Linked DNA regions of Homo sapiens: region 1 is linked to region 2. The links are contacts of gene promoters, found by promoter capture Hi-C in blood cells and fetal thymus (Javierre and others, 2016). All regions are on one chromosome and are shown on one strand. The core of a region is centred on a gene start or on the middle of the fragment in contact, and the rest is flanking DNA. Distances in the headings are between cores, read along the strand shown. Region 1 overlaps SMARCC2 (SWI/SNF related BAF chromatin remodeling complex subunit C2). Region 2 holds the start of ANKRD52 (ankyrin repeat domain 52).

Evidence for each region. Contacts are between HindIII fragments. The CHiCAGO score rates a contact against its expected background, and 5 or more counts as called.
Region 1: a contact is called between a fragment that was not itself captured here and the fragment with the promoter of ANKRD52 in region 2, in 2 of 17 cell types (endothelial precursors and erythroblasts). The highest score is 6.8, in endothelial precursors.

What each region holds. Positions count from the first base shown.
Region 1 is chr12:56,177,331-56,180,041 of GRCh38, forward strand. It overlaps SMARCC2 (SWI/SNF related BAF chromatin remodeling complex subunit C2), which reads right to left. Exons shown (of 29, transcript NM_001330288.2): 12 at 1,667-1,726; 13 at 1,480-1,517; 14 at 1,074-1,204; 15 at 692-763. Among named protein-coding and RNA genes, the nearest start is that of SMARCC2, 11 kb to the right of the region's middle. The HindIII fragment of the contact is 1,116 bases long and covers 882-1,997 here.
Region 2 is chr12:56,257,010-56,259,836 of GRCh38, forward strand. ANKRD52 (ankyrin repeat domain 52) reads right to left here and starts at 1,375. Exons shown (of 28, transcript NM_173595.4): 1 at 1,234-1,375; 2 at 819-902; 3 at 274-352; 4 at 6-76. The coding sequence starts at 1,260. RefSeq lists enhancers at 1-377, 684-733, 814-863 and silencers at 924-993, 1,014-1,563, 1,574-1,633. The HindIII fragment of the contact is 14,479 bases long and covers 1-2,827 here.

The DNA.
Region 1 (2,711 bases), core at 190-2,689, 80 kb before region 2:
AACTCCTGGGCTCAAGCAATCTTCCCATTTCAGCTTCCGAAGTAGCTGGGACCACAGGTATGCCCCACCAGGCCCAGCTAATTTTTTTTCACTTCTTTAGAGATGGGAGTCTTGCTATGTTGCTCATGCTATTCTTGAACTCCTGGCCTCAAGGAATCCTTCTGTCTCAGTGTCCCAAGTAGCTGGGATGATTTACAGTCGTGAGCCACCGTGGCTCCTACACTTCTTTCCCAGTGAGCCCTCTCCATCCCTTAATTTATATAAACTGGTCTTCTATTAGTTCCTTCTCTTGTTTTTCTATTAAAACCTACTCTCAGGAACCAGCCTGGTAATAGTAATTTACACTTTAATCAAAACTTTTGTGCTAGGAATATCTGCAGTATAGACGATATCAGTAATATGGATTTAAAGGCTCTATACCCTGTTAAAAAGAAGTTGAGGCACTGGAGTAGGTACTTGTTATGTATAGAACATGCTTAATATCACCCTTGGGCAAATCCTAAAGAACATGTGTCTACATGCTAGGCCAGGGCTGCCTAAAGGCAGATATTGTGCCTTTGTAAGCCTAGCATAGTGCCTGGCTCATGGAAGATGCTCAAGAAATGTTTGCTAAACTGAATGTTACTGGATCAGGAAGGGTGAATGTGGGGACAGGAGGGAGAAGGAGAATCATGAGATGAGATTTCCTTACATCTCTGGAGTCTTGGACTTGTTCTTGCCGTTGAAGAACTCGGGGAGAGCCCTCCGCTCAATGGCATGAACACTGCAAGAAAAGCCAGAATGGTTTCAGAAGAAGGCATTGGTGAAGGGATGGGGGCCCCAAAGGGAGGAAAAGCCTAGAAGGCAAAGAAGGAAAAGAGCTCGAAATTGCTGAAGTTAGAAGCTTGGGGAGAACATCCCACAGGCTGTAAGACTCAAAAGGACACAAGGAGCTCCCCTAAAACTAAAGTGTACTCTGGTCTATTTGGGTGAGGAAAAAATAACTTATTTGGAGGAGGCAGGGAGAAGAACAGCCTGTTGACCCCTGGAGGCAGGGAAATAAGGACTCAGTGAGAAGTTGGGGACAACCATACCTATTGTAGTCAAACCAGGCAGCGTAGCTGGGAATGATGATGTGGTGGGTCTGTTCAGTCACATTGTCCTCATGCAGGTCTGGATTCTTGGTCTGCTCTCCCTTGTTCCCCGTACTGTTCTCATCCTCATCCTACGAGTATGGAGGCTGCTGGACACTCAGCATTCCTGCTTCCTCCCTAGCAACCCTCTGCTTCTCCCACACCCCAGGAATGTGGACACTAAAGATGGGTGATGGGACTGAGCAGTCATGGGCCCCAGGACTCTGAAAGGGTCAGAGTTTTGAACAAAGCTGGAATTAGTCTACAGTGGGTAAAGTCTGGGCAGTGAAAAGTTTGGGCAGAATGAACTTTATAATCACAAATCAGAATCACATAGAGAGGTAGGGCCTCTCTAAACTGGCTCCACCTTGCCCGTCGTCTCCATGCTTTCATCTTCCTGTTCATCTGAAAGAGAAAAACCAAGATGTAAGGCTGGAGCCTCCTGAGGGGCAAGAAAGCCCTACCAAAAGCCCATCAGGCTAGCGAAAAGGGGGCAGCTGAGCCCTCCCCTTCCCTTGGCTCTGACTGCCGTGCCCAAGAGGCTCCTGTCTTACCCAGGTCGGTCATGGTGCCGCCTTTGACTGGGGCCGACTCTGAGTCTTTCTTTGTGTTGACTGCGAAAACAGAGAGTCATTTTATCAGACAGATTTTGCCTAATTCAAGCCTTCAATTTAATAGTTCCAGACATCCTACTTTCTCCAAAAATTGTCTCCACCTGATTGCAAAATATAGTAATTCTCTCCAGTCACAATTATTCTAGGGCTTCAAACTTCTTGCTACTTTCCCCACTTCTCCAACCAAAAATTAATTTAACTTATTTCTCTATGTACATTCATAAATGATTCTTGTCTTTGACAGGCCTTTATCTCCATCTATGTATCTGTAAGCTTTTAATGGTCTGATACTGAATCTGACCAAATCACTCTGTGGAAGAATGGTTAAGTGTTAAACATTTTTGAAAGCAGAGGATACTTTCCTCAACTGAATTCATATACATATGCTCAGGAGCAAACATAGAGAAGAGAGAGAGCTGATTGATGAGGAGGTAGAAGCCAGAACTCTTCTTGGTGGCAGCCCTAATCCTACCCCTGAAATACACTTCTGGAATACCTGGGGTGAGTCTACAGAATACAGACTGTAAACCAGTATTGGTGGAGCAATGTCTCCAAAGTGGGGTTCTAACATAGGACGCAAAAGATGATCCACTGCAACTCAGGGAGAGAATACAGAACTTCTCTTCATGTTTTTTGTTTTGTTTTTTTGAGACGGAGTCTCGCTCTGTCGCCCAGGCTGGAGTGCAGTGGTGCGATCTCGGCTCACTGCAACCTCCACCTCCCAGATTCAAGTGATTCTCCTGCCTCAGCCTCCCGAATAGCTAGGATTACAGGCGCCCACCACCACGCCTGGCAAATTTTTGTATTTTTCGTAAAGATGGGGTTTCACCGTGTTAGCCAGGATGGTCTTGATCTCTTGACCTCGTGATCCGCCTGCCTCGGCCTCCCAAAGTGCTGGGATTACAGGCGTAAGCCACCGCGCCCTGATTCTTCATGTTTGTTTTTATCATTCTTTACATTTTTCAATTTTTTAGATATGTTTGTG
Region 2 (2,827 bases), core at 125-2,624:
CATACCTCGTTTCGGGAGGCAGCAGCACGATGAAGAGGGGTCAGCCACAGTGTGTCCTTAGCATTGACATTAGCACCTGTGGGGATATAATTTCCTATTTTGATGGAAGGTGGGGAGGAGGTATGAAGGAAGCCAGTAATCAGGCCAGGAAATCTGAATGGAGCTGGAGCCTCGCCTGGACCAAGCCGGGGAGAGCAATCCTTGAATATCAAAAAAGACTCCTCCCCTCCCTTCGCTCCCTATGTGCCACACCTTCCAGCTCCCCACTTTCACCTGACATCAGTAGCAACTGGAGGATGGGGACATCGCCTACGTAGGCAGCAGCATGCAATGGAGTTCGCCTCTCTTGGTCCTGGGAAGGCAAAAAAGAGCAGGGAGTATGGGCGCGGGGTAAGGGGGCTATCAAGGACCCCAGCCCAAGTCTCAGAGCTCCAGGCCCTTCCCCACAACCTCTTCCCATAGTTTCTGCAGCGTCCTAAGTCCCGGTATTGGGAGTCAAAGGCAAGCACCTAGGGAGGGTGGAGTCAGGGCCAATGGGCTGAGAAGCCGGCTCCTTTTTCCAGGAGGGGTGGGGGCGCTGCAGACTCCGGAGGTTGAGAAGAGAACAACGTTCCTGGGCATTCCCAGCCCAAGTGATCTGGGCTTCAAGCCTGACCTGCTCTCCATCCCCAAATGCAGAGTAGGCTTTCACTCCAGGATGGAAAGAACTGCGGCCTCATCTGAGCAGAGGAGACACGGAGCCGCCCCACCGGTGGGGAGGGGTCCAGAACACGGGAGCCAGGATTCCGGTCTCGCCATCCTCCCTGCTCCCAACTCACCAGCACATTGATGTTCTCCTTCTGCGAGAGTAGGGAACGCACTTCCTCCACATCTCGGCTAAAGATGGCCTGGACCAGGGGCGGCTGCAGAGAGAACCGGCATTCTGAGAGCGGGCTGGAGCCGGAGCGGAACCGGTGTGGGGGTGGGGGTGGGGGAGCACCTAGGTTTGAGTGGGGGGCGTCCGTGGAGGGGCTCCACTCTAGGGATTCTGGCTGGAGCGAGCTCCCGCGGTGCCTCCGCCGGTTGCCAGGTCCCCAAGGACACCGGCTCGGTTGAGGGGAGCGCGGCATGGGGCGGGGCGGGAGCTGCGGGAGCCCCGGGCTCAGGCCCAGCCTAGGCCGCACATCCCCGGGCTCGCGTGACGGCAGCGCCGAGCCCTGGAAGGAGGAAGCGGGAAAGGGCAGGAGGGCTGACCTGGTCCGTGATGCTGAGGATCCCCATGGCTCGGCCCGGGCTCCGTCCGCATCGAGCTCCCGGCGGCGGCGGCGGCGGCTCCACCGGGGACACGGAGCGGCCCAGGCGGCGGCTGCGGTGGCGGCTGCAGGGAGAGCGCGGCCCCGCCTACCGGGGGGCGGGCGAGTTGGAGGCCGCAGCGCTCCCTGGCGGCCGTCCTGGTCCCGGCGCTCCCCGCGCAAACGGACCCCGGCCGCAGCGCCCTCCGCCCCACCCTGGCGGCCCCAGCAGCCCCTGCACCCCCGAACTCGCGCGCCGGCTCCCCGGCTCACGCAGCTGGCCGCGCTGTGCTCTCCGCTCCAGTCTGGCGGCCCAAGGGGTTCCCCACAAGACCCTAGCGGAAACCTGGGCCTTAGTCCCGCGGTGCTTCCCAAACTGAGGACCGAACGGCTGGCCAGATCTTACCCAGCCCACAATGCTCCCGCCCGAGCTAACTCCTCCCGTCAGCGATTCCACACCCCGAAATCCCCCACAGACTAGGAGGAACTGGCGGGTGGAGAACTGGGAATTATGTATGGCAATAGCCCCAGAGGGAGGGAAAGCGTGTATCTCCACTGGCGGAGGCGTGAGTTCGGTAGAGAAGAAATAGCAAAAGTGCTCAAACTGCAGAGAAACCCCAAGGAGGATTCTACTGCAGAAAACACCCACAAAGAGGCCATGACAACTGGCAGCTGGAAAAGGCCGCCAAGACCAACAGAAGGGGCATTTTCCAACTCCTTACTGATTCCATTGCAAGGTTAAAGTGGAAAACACTCAACAATTTCTCCCCAGAACAGCCTGTGGCGCTTCCCCTCCTCCAATGGAGAGGCCAGAGAGCCGTCAATTAGAGAAGAAATGAATGGAGGTCATCTCAACCCAGAAACGGAAAAAGGAGGAAGACGAAAAGTGGAGATTGAAAAATTGATACAATTTATAAAAGGTGATCCAGGGTCCTGTTCAGAGTTTCACAACTCAATACACATTGAAGAGAACACGAAATGGACGAAGTGCAGCATGCTGGCGTCCTGTCAAGGCTTTATATATAAAAATCCTCCCTTGAGGGGAGAGGAAAAAAATTAAAAAATAAAAATACATTTTATTTTATTTTTTGAGATGGAGTTTCACTCTCGTCCCCCAGGCTGGAGTGCAGTGGCACGATCTCGGCTCACTGCAACCTCCGCCTCCCGGGTTCAGTGATTATCCTGTCTCAGACTACCAAGTAGCTGAGACTACAGGCGCCCGCCACCCTGCCCGGCTAATTTTTTATTTTAGTAGAGACGGGGGTTTCACCATGTTGGTCAGGCTGGTCTCGAACTCCTGACCTCAGGTGATCCACCTGCCACGGCATCCCAAAGAGCTGGGATTACCGGCGTGAGCCACCGCACCCGGCGAAAATACATTTCAAAAAAGCCTTCCCGGCCGGGCGCGGTGGCTCACGCCTGTAATCCCAGCACTTTGGGAGTCCGAGGCGGGTGGATCACGAGGTCAGGAGATCGAGACCATCCTGGCTAACACAGCGAAACCCCGTCTCTACTAAAATACAAAAATCAGCCGGGCAGGGTGGCGGGCGCCTGTA